Linked DNA regions of Homo sapiens: region 2 is linked to region 1. The links are contacts of gene promoters, found by promoter capture Hi-C in human tissues and cell types (Jung and others, 2019). All regions are on one chromosome and are shown on one strand. The core of a region is centred on a gene start or on the middle of the fragment in contact, and the rest is flanking DNA. Distances in the headings are between cores, read along the strand shown.

Region 1 (7,541 bases), core at 1-2,500:
ACCTACAATCCCTTTTGGAGATGAAATTCAACAGGTAAAAGCAGTACCAGAGCAGGTGTCTCTGAAAGGAGGTAGTGGGGAGTTCCCAAAGGAAAGAGAAAAGGGAAGAGGAGAGCCAGCACAGAACAAAGAATTGCAGAGAGGGAGCCATGGGCTTCTCCTGGAGACCCTAAAACAGAGCCCCAGGAAGAGGTGATGACATAAGAGGCTTCTCAAACCTCACAAGAGGAAGTAGACCCAAGAGACACGCATTGGAGATCAGAGAGCGGCCATGCAAAAGGAAAGACAGCAAACGAGCTGCAGCAAGCTCCTAAGCCCTGCAGCCCAGGCACAGGAAACCAGAGGCAGAGCCTCAGGCCCAGGGTGAGGGGCGAAGCACCAGCCTGAGCCTCTTGCAGCACAGAGCAGCTGGAAGAGAGAAGTGCTGGAGCCACCGGAGGATTATGGCTGTCTACTCCGAGGGCAGCAACCTGCCTAGGCCTGCGGTGCAAGGCCCAAGTCCTGACCAGGTGCTTTGGCCAAGCCCAGGGAGTTAGGAAGTGTACCAGGCTGCTAGAGGTAGCTAGGGCTGGAAACGCACTAACATGTGGGCTATTGCACAGCTCCTGTGCAAAAACCTAGCAAATGAGCATGCTCTGGAGCACCACGCAGGCTCGCGTGTAGAGCTTGTTCCTAGGACCTATCACTACTCCCTAGACCCCTCAAAAAACAAACCCTGGCCTACACTCAGAGAATGCTCTGGGAGGTGGGGCTACAAAAGAAACTTTCTCTTGGGGGTAGGTGGAGCCCAGCAGCAGGGGAGAGCCAGAGGAAGGCGTGTCAAGGGAGGAGGTGAGACCCAACTGAGGGTAGGCACTGGAAGAGGGCTTTCTCTCTTCACTCTAACTTGGAACCTCATTCTGCATAGAACTTTTTCAAAGTCGGAGGGAGGAGGTTGCTCAGAGTGGGGTGTTGCCCTCTGCGAGGATTTGGAGTCCCCTGGCCTCCCAGCAGGGAGTGGAGAGGCATTCCCAGAAGCATCAGCTTCGGGCATCTCCAGAACCCTGGCTTGGTCCCTGACCAAGGAGTGTCCCCAACTGCTGAATAGGCCAGGAGTCGCCTTTCTCTAAGGCTTACATCTCTCCCTCTGGGGTGTGTCCTGCCCCTCCCTGAGTCACCCCAAGGGGAGAGAGGGGAAAAAAGGGAAGAGAAGAGAGGCATTGACTACAGAGGAAGGAAAAGGAAGCAGAGCAGAGGGGGGAGAGAGGCCACACAGGAGTGGGTGACAGAGGAGACTGCAGAGGGCAGGTCTAGGGCAGAAGATCGAGAGAGGGCAGGCCCAGGTCAGGAGGAGGTAGAGAGAGGGCAGCCGGAGCACCCCAAGGGGTGCCTCAAGAGCAGGTGGGGGCGGGGAGCCGAGGGGGCGGGCCGGCCATGTCCCACGGGACCTACTACGAGTGTGAGCCCCGGGGTGGCCAGCAGCCACTCGAGTTCTCAGGGGGCCGAGCTGGGCCCGGGGAGCTAGGGGACATGTGTGAGCATGAGGCCTCCATTGACCTCTCCGCCTACATCGAGTCTGGGGAAGAGCAGCTTCTCTCCGATCTCTTTGCCGTGAAGCCAGCGCCTGAGGCCAGAGGCCTCAAGGGCCCCGGAACCCCTGCCTTCCCCCACTACTTGCCGCCTGACCCTCGGCCCTTTGCCTACCCTCCACATACCTTCGGCCCAGACAGGAAGGCGCTGGGGCCTGGCATCTACAGCAGCCCAGGGAGCTACGACCCCAGGGCTGTGGCGGTGAAGGAGGAGCCCCGGGGGCCAGAGGGCAGCCGAGCTGCCAGCCGAGGCAGCTACAATCCCCTGCAGTACCAAGTGGCACACTGTGGGCAGACAGCCATGCACCTGCCCCCAACTCTGGCAGCACCCGGCCAGCCTCTGCGCGTTCTCAAGGTAAGAGCAGGCCAGCCCTCCTCCCTCCTGCCCGGGGCTGGAGAGGCTGGTGTGGACAGGACCCTGTGCCCCGGCTCATGCTGCTGAGCCTGTGCTTGGTGTCGCTCTGTGAAATGGACCCAACCCACAGTCCTCTGTGTTCACACCCCACCATGACCTCCCTTTCCTTCTCTGTGAATTCATTCCCACCCTGAATCCCCACCCAAAGCCCCTGTGGCAAGCTGACCTACTTGATCTCAGGCCCCCACCGCCAGCCTCTCTGCTGCTCACCATGCCCCCTCCTCTTGTTTCTCTGCCGCCTGCTTCTGTGAGAAATGTCTACTGGTCATAGAACGGGAGACTCAAGGCAGATTGAGGGAAAGTGTACTCAGAAAGTGTGAGAGCATTGGCTGGGTGTCGTGGCTCATGCCTGTAATCCCAGCGCTTTGGGAGGCCAAAGCAGGAGGTTCGCTTAAGGCCAGGGGTTGGAGACCAGCCTGGACAACATAGCAAGGCTCCATCTTTACAAAAAAAGAAAGAAAGAAAGTGTGAGAACATGAAAGGGAGTTTTGGTCTCAAGCAGAGGACCCTGTGCATCTGGGTCACCATCTCCCAGAAGCAGAGCGATGATAGTTTTGACCTGAGAGACAGGAGCTGGCTCTGAGTCCTGTATTCCTTTGACGCATCAAGTGTGCCCTGGCTGCCGAGATTCCCGCCCCGCCTCCGCTCTGCCTCCTGGCCAGCCCTCACCTCTCCGTCTCTCCGTGCCTTCCCCTCCAGGCCCCTTTGGCCACTGCCGCACCCCCCTGCAGTCCCCTCCTGAAGGCGCCCTCCCCGGCTGGCCCCTTACACAAGGGCAAGAAGGCAGTGAACAAAGATAGCCTTGAGTACCGGCTGAGGCGGGAGCGCAACAACATCGCCGTGCGCAAGAGCCGAGACAAGGCCAAGAGGCGCATTCTGGAGACGCAGCAGAAGGTGCTGGAGTACATGGCAGAGAACGAGCGCCTCCGCAGCCGCGTGGAGCAGCTCACCCAGGAGCTAGACACCCTCCGCAACCTCTTCCGCCAGATTCCTGAGGCGGCCAACCTCATCAAGGGCGTGGGGGGTTGCAGCTGAGGCTGGCTGGTGGATTGTGGGCACCAGGCTCCCTGGCACGGCCTAACTCTGCGGACCCCCATCCTGCTGGGGGCCTAGAACCCTGAGACATAGACCATGGATAAATGGCAACCGGGGTGGCAAAGAGGGCAGGACCCAGCATAATGATTATATGGCTGAATAAAGTTGCACTGTGACTGGGTGTTGGGACTGTTGGCTGTGTGTGTGTGTGTGTGTGTGTGTGTGTGTGTGTGTGTGTCATGGAGGACCCTGGGGACAGAGGATGCATGTGGCTAGGTCTGCACCTCTTGTTTCCATGACCAAGTGGACATGTGGAAACACAGACATGCTGTCCACAGCCCACCCCCAATATACCACACAGCCAGGCCGTGTATCTGTCACTCTGCTCTTCTCTCCCTGACATCCCCCATCACCCCCTTCTGTGAGCTGAAGGCACATCCCCGCCCCCCACAGGACCTGGAGCACCTTTGTATGCTCTGCTAACAAAGATCTTCAGCTTGTAGGGAGATCCCGGCACCACACAGTCCTTCATGCCCAGGCCTGCTGATCCCAGGCCCACTCTCTCTCACCTTGAGGTATAGGTCTGGGAGCTCCTGCCCCAGGTGACCATGGGAAAATTCCTGATGGCTCTGCCATATTTATGGTCCCTTGATCCAGCCCGCCATCTCTTCTCTCCATTTCCAAAGCCTCAGTCTACCAGATGGACACCCTCCCCACGCTGCTCCCACCCATTCATTTCCATCCTTTGTCCCTCATCCCTGAGGCTCCAGTTCCCTAAAGCTTGAGAATTGAGTGCATGGGACAGGAATCGGTTGGGAAAGACCTGGAGACCGGATTTGTGTATGAGAACACTGGTAGTGAGAAGGAGGATGACAATCTGCCCGTGCCAGGGAAACCCATCATTCGAAACAGCATTTTCTTTTGCATTGGACTACAGCCTAAGAGACAGAATGGTACAATAATTAAGAGCCTCAGTTTGAATCTTACACTGCTACTTACTAGCTGTGAGCCTTGAGCCATTATGTCTTTCTGTGCCTCAGTTTCCTCATCTGCAAAATGGTTGCAATATTTGTCCCCACTCCGTAGTGTTGTTATATTCATAGAAAAAGAAAACTTTGCATGTAATAAGCATATTTATTATGATTCCTCCATTTTGCTGGAACTGAAAGGACCTCAGAGATCTCATCTAAACTCATTTTGCAGGTAAGAAAACAGGCTGCAAAGAGGGGAAGGGACTTACCTGGAGTCACACGATTGTTTAGAGGTAGAACCAAAATTGGCTCTGTAAAATCGCAGATCTCAAGATGTGCTGGGAGAGACCTCAAGAGATCATCTGGTGGGCTCTGCCCTCAGACCAGCAAGGTAGGGTGAGCCACATTTTACAGATAAAGCAGTTGAGGGCCAGAGGGGTAAGAGGCTTCTCCTGACACTCACTGAGTCCCTTTGCTGCCTCAGTACGTGGTACCTGTCTCTCTACTCCACGCTACACTCTTCTCACAGATCCTCAGTACGAGTGTCACATGAATCACATTCAATAAAGAACAGTGCCCAACAGTGTCAGGGACCCAGGGACAGATTACGGGCTTCTTAAAGTCTCTCCTAAGCCAATGCTGTGAAAGGCTGAGTCAGACATCAAGGAATAATTTTCTGAGAAGGTGAGAGACTGGTGTCTGGATCATCCCAGATCTCTCTCCCTTCTTCAAATCTCCAGCGGTAGAGCCCTCCCACACCTCGGGCATCCGTGTGCGGCATGTCTACCTTGCCCAGGACTCAGTCCTTTTCCTGCCTTTGCCTCTGTGTCTCTCGGGCACCTCTGTGTCCTGGAGGCCCGTGCCCCAGGTCTGGTTTGGAGGGAGAGATCTGAACCTTCAGTGGAGGGACCGACTGGAGCTTCCTGAGTTCAGAAGGAGGGGAGGTACCAGTCTCTGTGGGCACCTGGGAGAATCCTCACACCTTCCTTTCAGCCCAGGGGGATAGGTTGCATAAGGGGGGTTTGTACAGAACATGGTAAATGACTCAACCTCCGGATTTCCTCCTCTCAGCTCAAGACCACTGTCCCTTGACTTACTTTCAAGGTTCTGGGTGATGGGACCTGGGTTGCTTCAGCATGAAGCCCAGGCTTTGTTCCCACAGCTCTGAATTGCTTCTCCTCTCAGGCCCCCGCTCACCCAGTCAGGTCCTCAGGGCCGGTGCCTAGTGGAGCCTTCCTGACTGGCACCCAGTCTGGGGGAGTCACATCCCCGTCTCCCCACTGTGATCCCAGCGTGACGTGCAGCAGCTGAACACATCCCAATCCTCTGCATCAGATCATATTCCAGGGGTGTGAGTCAGAGCCAGAGGGCACACTTCCTGAAAGAGGCTTTCAATCTGACCTCAATTGGTTTTGGCCAACGTAACTTATTCAACAAGTATTTGTTGAGTATCTTTTCTAGGAATGAGACAAGTTCTCAGCAGAAGGAGTAGGAAGAAAAAGTCAATAAACAAGTGTGCTGAATGTCTTCCTTTGCCCCTCCAGAACCCTCTCCACCCTTCATCACCCTACACAGTCCCCAGGTGGATGCCTCCCTACATCAACCAGCCTCTCATGGGGTGGGGGTGAGACTGGCAGGAGGAGAGTGGTGGGAGCCCCCTGCTGACCGGCGCTCTCCACAGTCCCTCCCAAAGGATTCCTGGCCCTCAGGCGCCCCCCGTGCTGGGCTAGCCCAGGGGACTTCACCACTCCAGGAACTTTCCCCAGATACTGTTGGTTCACATCTTCATAAAGCACCTTAATTAACTTCTCCTGCTTACTCCATTTGAATAGCCCATTGGGGAAACCACATAAACCAACAGGTAGGGAGGCTATTTTAGCTGGGGTGGCCGAGAAAGGTATCTCTGAGGAAGTGACATTTTAGTTGACACTTCAAAAATTTTGAGAAGGAGGCAGGTATGTCTTTGAGTGTAAGGGTGAACAGAGGGAAGGGTAAATGCAAAAGCCCTAAGGTGACCGAGAGAAAGGAAGCCAGGAGTAGATGCTGAATGAAAGAAGGAAGGAGAGGATAAGTAAGAAAAAGATGCACCTTCCCTCCAGAATGGGGCTGCAGGGGTTGCAAATGACTATTTTCATTCCCTCTGTCAAGGAGGATGGTGCCTAAGAAGCCGGGGCAGGTGGAGAGCAGGGTTCTCTCTGCCCCTGGATTCAGCTTCCCTGCCCCTTGGTCCTCCTGGCACCTTTACCACAGTAAGGTTGTCCCCACTGGGGAAGGAGATGACAGAAAGGAGCCCAGGGAAGGGCAGTTAGCCAAACCCTGCCTGGGGAAAGGCACCAGGACCGGGGACTCGATAACGTTTGAAAACCAGCAAATCAAGGTCCAAACAGCACACGCATGCAGTCCTATTGCTTCAGCGCCCACAGCTCAGGCCCACTTTTCTTTCTGGAGCAGAACTGGGGAGCAGAATGAGACTCCTGAGCTGAGAGACAGGATCTTAGGCCACAGGGAAGCTGCAGAGGAGAAGACAGACTGTGGGGAGACACTGCAGAGGGAGGAAGCTGCCCAAGGTGAGTCTGCCAAGGTCAGTCAGCGGAGGCAGTGGCTTGTGAAAGCTGCCCCCAACCCCCCTGCTCGGTGCACACCTCCCCACCCCTCTACACAGATTGCCACATGCCTGGGCCCCCAGGGCCCCCATCCCAGTGTTGCAAGATCCCGGTTGGGGTTGTGGGTGGAAAGGGGCCTCTTCACCTCCACCCCCTGCCGTGCTCCAAGCCAGTGAGGGGACTATGGGATGAAGGGGGCTGTTCAGGAGACGCTGAGGCAACAATAGGCAGGGCTGGCTGAGAGCCTGTGCGTCTCCTCTCGGACAGGCCAGTCACTTCCCATCACCCTCACCAGCACCCCCCACCCCCCGCAGACAGACCCCTCCTCCCGACTCAGCATGAGCTGCTCCAAAATGGGAGTGGCCCAAGCTGGACAGAACCCCTGGCTGACCTCTGTCAGCTGCTTCCATAAGCAGGCCTGGCCTGGCCTCAGAAAACCTCAGTGGCATATGAGAAATTCTCCCCAAGGGGAGAGGGTGTGGGTTTTCAGAGGAAAATGGCTACAACTTAACTTTATCAAAATGGCCATCAATTCTGACTTCAGAGAGCAATGGAAAGGTCCCAGGGCCTGGGAAGGGGCAGGCTTCTTGATAGGGAAAGACCCACCACAGAGCTGTAGCCTCTTGCTTCTCTTTTATTATTTATTTATTTATGTATTTATTTTAGGTCCAGGGACAGACTAGATTTTTCCCTTAGATTTGCTTCCCTTTTAGAAGAAACAGGGTTCTAGGGGTAGGTAGAGGCAAGCCACACATAGAATGGATCCATCCCCTACGCCCCATGAGCTAAGCTTCACCCTGGAGTCCTAAACTGTCCAAACCCCTATTGCTCACCACGCCCCCCCCACCACCACCACCACACACACACCTAGCACTGTCACCCCTGGCCAGGCTATCCAACCTTGCTGCAATCGGGACGGTTTGCAAAACGCCTTCTAGCTCCCGCTTTG
Region 2 (7,541 bases), core at 120-2,619, 110 kb before region 1:
ATTCCTGACCTCAAACCATCTTGCTGCCTCAGCCTCCCCAGCAGCTGGGATTACAGGCATGTAGCATCATGCCTGAGTAATCTTAATTCTACTTAAATAAAAGTTTTCACTGGAAAATATTTTAGTGCCATGTGGAGTGGGGCGTTAGCCCCATCCAATATTAAAATATATTATAAAACGTCTGTAATTTAAAGTGTGGTGTTGGTGCATAAACGTGTAGACCAATGAAACAGAATCAAGTCTAGAAATAGAACCAAGTACGTTAATAAATTTTAATTGGTAAGTGTGCATGGGGAATTGAATTTTTATATACATAGAATTGGGACAACTGAATAGCCATCTGAAAAAATATAAAATTGAGTCTGTTTCTCATACTGTTTACCAGGATAAATTTCAAATGGATCAGAAATCTAAACAGACAGGTACCAGACGAAAATAATAGTAAATACTCTTATAACCTAGGTGTGCAGGAAATCTTCCTAGGATCCAAAAATCTAGAAGAGAGAAAATATTGACAAATTTGACTAAGTAATTTTAAAAAAAACTTTTTGCATGTACACACACACACACACACGAAAAGTAAAGCACAAAGTGACAAATTACAAAAAAAATCAACTTAAATCCTAAAGGGCTAATAGCTTTAATATACAAAGAGCTTTTTAAAAAAGAAAACCAACAACTTAATAGAAATTTGAACAGTTGAAAAAAAAAAGAGACCAACAGTTTTCCTAGAAAATATCTTGGTTTTGAGTGTTCTGGGCTTTTTGAGTGTTCCTTCGTACACATGGTATACATGGCTGGAGTGCAAGTGCAGTGGTACTATCTCAGCTCACTGCAACCTCTGCCTCCCAGGTTCAAGCAATTCTCCTGCCTTAGCCTCCTGAGTAGCTGGAACTACAGGCACACACCACCAGGCCTGGCTAATTTTTGTATTTTTAGTAGAGACAGGGTTTCACCGTGTTGGCCAGGCTGGTCTCGAACTCCTGACCTCAGGTGATCCGCCCACCTTGGCTTCCCAAAGTGCTGGGATTACAGGCATGAGCCACCATGCCCAACCTACCCATTTTTAATTGGGTTGTTTATTTTCTTATTGTTGAGTTTTGAGAACTCTTTTTTTTTTTTTTTTTTTTGAGACAGGGTCTCACTCTGTTGCCCAGGCTGAAGTGCAGTGTCATGATTATGGCTCACTGCAGCCTCAACCTCCCAGGCCCGAATGATTCCCCTAACTCAGCCTCCCGAGTGGCTGGGACTACAAGCATGCACCACCATACCCGGCTAATTTTTCTATTTTTTTTTTTTTTTTTTTTTTGTAGAGATGGGGTTTCACCATGTTGCCCAGGCTGGTCTCAGACTCCTGGGCTCAACTGATCCTCCCACCTCAGCCTCCTAAAGTACTGGGATTATAGGCATGAGCCACCAAACCCAGATAAAATTTTCTTTTCTTTAAATATTCTTTTTTTTTTTTTTAATTGATCATTCTTGGGTGTTTCTCGCAGAGGGGCATTTGGCAGGGTCATAGGACAATAGTGGAGGGAAGGTCAGCCAATAAACATGTGAACAAAGGTCTCTGGTTTTCCTAGGCAGAGGACCCTGCGGCCTTCCGCAGTGTTTGTGTCGCTGGGTACTTGAGATTAGGGAGTGGTGATGACTCTTAACCAGCATGCTGCCTTCAAGCATCTGTTTAACAAAGCACATCTTGCACCGCCCTTAATCCATTTAACCCCGAGTGGACACAGCACATGTTTCAGAGAGCACAGAGTTGGGGGTAAGGTCATAGATCAACAGCATCCCAAGGCAGAAGAATTTTTCTTAGTACAGAACAAAATGGAGTCTCCTATGTCTACTTCTTTCTACACAGACACAGCAACAATCTGATTTCTCTGTCTTTTCCCCACCTTTCCCCCTTTTCTATTCCACAAAACCACCATCGTCATCATGGCCCGTTCTCAATGAGCTGTTGGGTACACCTCCCAGATGGGGTGGTGGCCGGGCAGAGGGGCTCCTCACTTCCCAGACGGGGCAGCTGGGCAGAGGCACCCCCACCTCCCAGACAGGGTGGCGGCCGGGCAGAGGCTGACCCCCCCCCCACCTCCCTCCCAGACGGGGCGGCTGGCCGGGTGGGGGCTGACCCCCCCACCTCCCTCCCGGACGGGGCGGCTGGCCGGGCGGGGGCTGACCCCCCACCTCCCTCCCAGACGGGGCGGCTGGCCTGGTGGGGGCTGACCCCCCAACTCCCTCCCGGACGGGGAGGCTGGCCGGGCGGGGGCTGACCCCCCAACTCCCTCCCGGACGGGGTGGCTGCTGGGCGGGGGCTGACCCCCACCTCCCTCCCAGAGGGGTGGCTGCTGGGCAGAGACGCTCCTCACTTCCCAGACGGGGCGGCTGCCGGGCGGAGGGGCTCCTCACTTCTCAGACGGGGCGGCTGCCGGGCGGAGGCGCTCCTCACTTCTCAGACAGGGCGGCTGCCGGGCGGAGGGGATCCTCACTTCTCAGATGGGGTGGCTGCCAGGTGGAGGGGCTCCTCACTTCTCAGACAGGGCAGCCGGGCAGAGACGCTCCTCACCTCCCAGATGGGGTTGCGGCCGGGCAGAGGCGCTCCTCACATCCCAGATGGGGCGGCGGGGCAGAGGCGCTCCCCACATCTCAGACGATGGGCAGCCGGGCAGAGACGCTCCTCACTTCTTAGACGGGATGGCGGCGGGGAAGAGGCCCTCCTCACTTCCCAGAGTGGGCAGCCGGGCAGAGGGGCTCCTCACATCCCAGACGATGGGCAGCCAGGCAGAGACGCTCCTCACATCCCAGACGGGGTGGCAGCCGGGCAGAGGCTGCAATCTCGGCACTTTGGGAGGCCAAGGCAGGCGGCTGGGAGGTGGAGGCTGTAGCTAGCCAAGATCACGCCACTGCACTCCAGCCTGGGCAACAACATTGAGCACTGAGTGAACGAGACTCCGTCTGCAATCCCGGCACCTCGGGAGGCCGAGGCTGGCAGATCACTCACGGTTAGGAGCTGGAGACCAGCCCGGCCAACACAGCGAAACCCCCTCTCCACCAAAAAAATACAAAAACCAGTCAGGCGTGGCGGCGCGTGCCTGCAATCGCAGGCACTGGGCAGGCTGAGGCAGGAGAATCAGGCAGGGAGGTTGCAGTGAGCCGAGATGGCAGCAGTACAGTCCAGCTTCGGCTCAGCATCAGAGGGAGACCATGGAAAGAGAGGGAGAGGGAGACCGTGGGGAGAGGGGAGAGGGGAGAGGGGAGAGGGGGAGCTCTTTAAATATTCTTATCTTTTCTTCTACTCTGAAAGGAAAATGGGGTACCTCTGGAAATTTTCTTCAAAAATTCTAGAAATCTAGATTTGTAATTTTGATTTTACATTTAGGTATATGATTCATTTGAGTTAATTTTCTACATGGTGTGAGGTATGGATTAAAGTTTGCATGTGCATATGTGGGTGTGTTTTGCATGTGGATATCCAATTGTTTCAGCACCATTTTTTTAAAAGATTAACTTTTCTCAACTAAATTGCCTTTGTCAAAAATTGATTGCCCAGAGAAAATAATTCCATTTGTGACAGCATCAAGAAGGATAAAATATTTAGGAATAAATTTAATCAAGGAGAGGCACAAGACTTGTTTGTACATAGAACACTACTTAATATTGTTTACAATAGCATCCAAAGCTATATACGGATTCAATGTCATCCCTATCAAAATTCCAACTATTTTTTCAGAAATTGAAAAATCCACCCTAAAATTAATATAAAATTTCAAAAAACTTAGAATAGTCAAAACAATCTTAAAAAGGAAAAAATTTGGAAGACTCATATTGCCCAATTTCAAAACCTACTACAAAGCTACTGTAATCAAAACAGTGTGTTTCTAGCATAAGGATAGACATATATAGACCAACAGAATAGAACTGAGAATCCAGAAATAAACCCTCACATCTATGGTCAGTTGATTTTTGACAAGGGTGTCAAGACCATTGAATAGGGGAAAGAACAGTCTCTGCAACAAACAGTGCTGGGAAAACTATGTCCATATGCAAAAGAATAAAGTTGAATCCTTACCTTACACCATATACAAAAATTAACTCAAAATGGATCAAAGACCTAAATGTATGGGTGAAAACTCTAAAACTCTTAGAAGAAAATATAGGGGAAAATCTTCATGACCTTGTATTTGGCAATGGTTTTTTTTTTTTTTTTTTTTTTTTTTTTTTGAGATGGAGTCTCGCTCTGTCGTCCAGGCTGGAGTGCAGTGGCGCGATCTCGGCTCACTGCAAGCTCCGCCTCCCGGGTTCACGCCATTCTCCTGCCTCAGCTTCCCGAGTAGCTGGGACTACAGGCCCCCGCCACCACACCCGGCTAATTTTTTGTATTTTTAGTAGAGACGGGGTTTCACCGTGTTAGCCAGGATGGTCTCGATCTCTTGACCTCGTGATCCACCCGCCTCGGCCTCCCAAAGTGCTGGGATTACAGGCGTGAGCCACCGCGCCCGGCCGGCAATGGCTTTTTAAATACAAAAATAGCACAGGCAACAGAAGAAAAATAAATAAAAGGGACTTAGTTAAAATTAAAAACTTTTGTGCAACAAAGGATACTATCAAGAAAGTGAAAGGCAACCCACAGAATGGGATAAAATATTAGTAAATCATATATCTGATAAGGTTTTAATATTCAAAATATAAAAAGAACTACAACTCTCTCTCTCTTCCTTTTTCCACCATTGTGGTGTGTATTCGACTCCGCTTCTCATCATGTCTTCTCACAAGACTTTCAGTATTAAGCAATTCCTAACCAAGAAACAAAAGCAAAATCATCCCATTCCTCAGTGGATTTGGATGAAAACTGATAATAAAATCAGGTACAACTTTAAAAGGAGACATTGGAGAAGATTCAAGCTGGATCTATAAGGAATTGTGCACGAGATGGCACACATATTTATGCAGTATCAAGCTCATAACCATCTTACCATATCAAGCTAAAAATGTCACCACTATCTGGACAGTTGGGCATGTTTTATTGGGAATATAGTTTTTCTGTTTCTTTATTTGCTGTGCGCTAGTAGTCTGGGTTCAGTAATAAATATGTGAGAACTCTTGTTTCAAAAAAAAGAACAACTCAACAACAAAAAAGTCAAACAACCCAATTAAAAATAGGCAAAAGATTTGAATAGACATTTCTACAAAGAAGATATAGAAGTGTCCAGCAGACACATGAAAAGATTCTCAATATAATTAGTCATAGGGGAAATGCAAATTAAAACCACAGTGAAATATCATTTCACATGTGGTGGGGTGGCTAGAATTTTCTAAATGAAAATATGTTTTAGGAGGATATGGAGAAATCAGAACCCTTGTACATTGCTGATGGGAATGTACAATGATGCACCTGCTTTGGAAAGCAATTTGGTGGCTCCTCAAAAAGTGAAAAATAGAACTATCCTGCCATGTGACCCAGCAATTCCATTCCTAGGTGTATACAAAATAATTTAAAACAGGGGCTCAAACAGATATGTGTACACCAATATTCCTACCAGCATTATTCACAATAACCAAAAGATAGAAACAACACAAATGTCCATTAGTAGATGAATGGATAAACAATGTGGTATATATATATATATATATATATATATATATATATATATATAAAATATTATTCAGCCATAAAGGAAATAAAGTTTTGATACATGCTACAACATGGATGAATCTTGAAAAAATTATGCTAAGTGAAATAAGCCAGACACAAAAAGAGAAATATTGTATAATCTCACTGAAATATCCAGAACAGTCAGATTTATAGAGACAGAAAGTAGATTAGAGGTTAGCAGGAACTAGGGGTATGAGAGATAGGAAGTAATTGCTTAATGGGTGAAGAGTTTCTGTTAGTGGTTATGAAAAATTATGGAAATAGAGATGATGATTGTACAACATTGTGAATGTACCTAATGCCACTGAATTGCACACTAACAATGGTTAAAATAGCAAATTTTATGTTATATATTTTACCGAAATAAAAAGGAAAATCAGTGTTCTATACATATTCAAGCCCATTTCTGCATGCTCTATTCTGTTCCACTGATTGATTTGTCTGTCTTGATGCCAATACCATACTGTCACTTACTGTAGCCTTATGATAAGTCTTGAAATGATGTAGTCTTGATCCTCTTTGTTCTTTCTTCTTCTTGTGTTTTTGTTTTGTTTTGTTTTGTTTTTTTGTTTTTTTAGAGAGTCTTGCTCTGTCACCCAGGCTGGATTGCGTTAATGTGATCACAAGTCACTGCAACCTGGAAGTCCTGGGCTCAAGTGATCCTCCCTGCTCATCCTCCCTGCTCATCCTCCCAAATAGTTAGGACTACAGGCACATGCCACCACACCTGTTAATTTTTTTTTTTTTTTTTTTTTTTTTGGTAGAGATAGGGTTTTACTATGTGGGCCAGGCTGGCCTCAAACTCCTGGCCTCAAGTGATTTTCCTGCCTTGGCCTCCCAAAGCTCTGGGATTACAGCTGTGATCCACTGCGCCTGGCCAGCCTGTTCTTTTGCAGAGTTGCTTTGACCATTCTAACTCATTTGCATTTCCAAATGAATTTTATTATCAGATAAACAATTTCTAAAAAGAGCCTGATGAGTTTTTTTTTTAGACAGAGTTTCGCTCTCGTCACCCAGGCTGGAGTGTGATGGCACGATCTCAGCTCACCGCAATCTCCACCTCCACCACCTTCAAGCAATTCTCCTGCCTCAGCCTCCTGAGTAGCTGGGATTACAGGCATGTGCCACCACGCCTGGCTAATTTTGTATTTTTAGTAGAGACGAGGTTTCTCCATGTTGGTCAGGCTGGTCTTGAACTCCCGACCTCAGGTGATCCACCTGCCTCGGCCTCCCAAAGTGCTGGGATTACAGGCTTGAGCCACCATGCCTGGCATTGCCTGATGAGATTTTTAAAAAACTTTTATATTTTTAGAACTTTTTATTGACCAGGTGTGGTGACTCAAGCCTGTAATCCCAGCACTTCGGGGGGCTGAGGTGGGTGAATCACCTGAGTCCAGGAGTTTGAGATCAGCCTGGCCAATGTAGTAAAATCCTGTCTCTACAAAAAGTACAAAATTAGCCAGGCGTGCTGATGCATGCCTGTAGTCCCAGCTACTAAGGAGGTTGAGGTGGGAGAATCTCTTGAGCCTGCAGGTTGAGGCTGCAGTGAGCAGTGATTGCACCACTGCCTCCAGCCTGGGTGACAGGGCGAGAACTAGTCTCAAAACAAACAAAAAAACACTTTTTGTTCGATTTAATGTATATTCAATGTATATTGACATTTAATGTATATTCAATGTATATTGATGTATAATATACATACAGAAGTATGCCTATTTCTTGCACACATAGCTTACTGAATTTCCACAAACTCAACACACCCATGTAATCAGCCACCCTGATCAGAAATCATAACATTCCCAGCACCCAGAAAACCCCTGTGCCCGCTTCCATACACCATCTCCCCTAAAGGCAACCATTGTCCTGCTTTCTAATACCATAAATTGTAACT

The links. Contacts are between HindIII fragments. The study calls those that stand out against the background at their distance.
Region 2: a contact is called between a fragment that was not itself captured here and the fragment with the promoter of CEBPE in region 1, in 3 of the 25 tissues and cell types used here (mesenchymal stem cells, mesendoderm cells and thymus).

The regions. Positions count from the first base shown.
Region 1 is chr14:23,112,964-23,120,504 of GRCh38, reverse strand. CEBPE (CCAAT enhancer binding protein epsilon) reads left to right here and starts at 1,250. Exons shown (of 2, transcript NM_001805.4): 1 at 1,250-1,923; 2 at 2,683-3,199. The coding sequence starts at 1,414. The coding sequence ends at 3,018. RefSeq lists enhancers at 1-451, 532-611, 4,540-5,739, 5,905-6,623. The HindIII fragment of the contact is 12,579 bases long and covers 1-5,590 here.
Region 2 is chr14:23,227,331-23,234,871 of GRCh38, reverse strand. It overlaps a transcript of RNF212B not described here and the pseudogene RPL39P2. Among named protein-coding and RNA genes, the nearest start is that of RNF212B, 6.8 kb to the left of the region's middle. The HindIII fragment of the contact is 6,657 bases long and covers 1-4,697 here.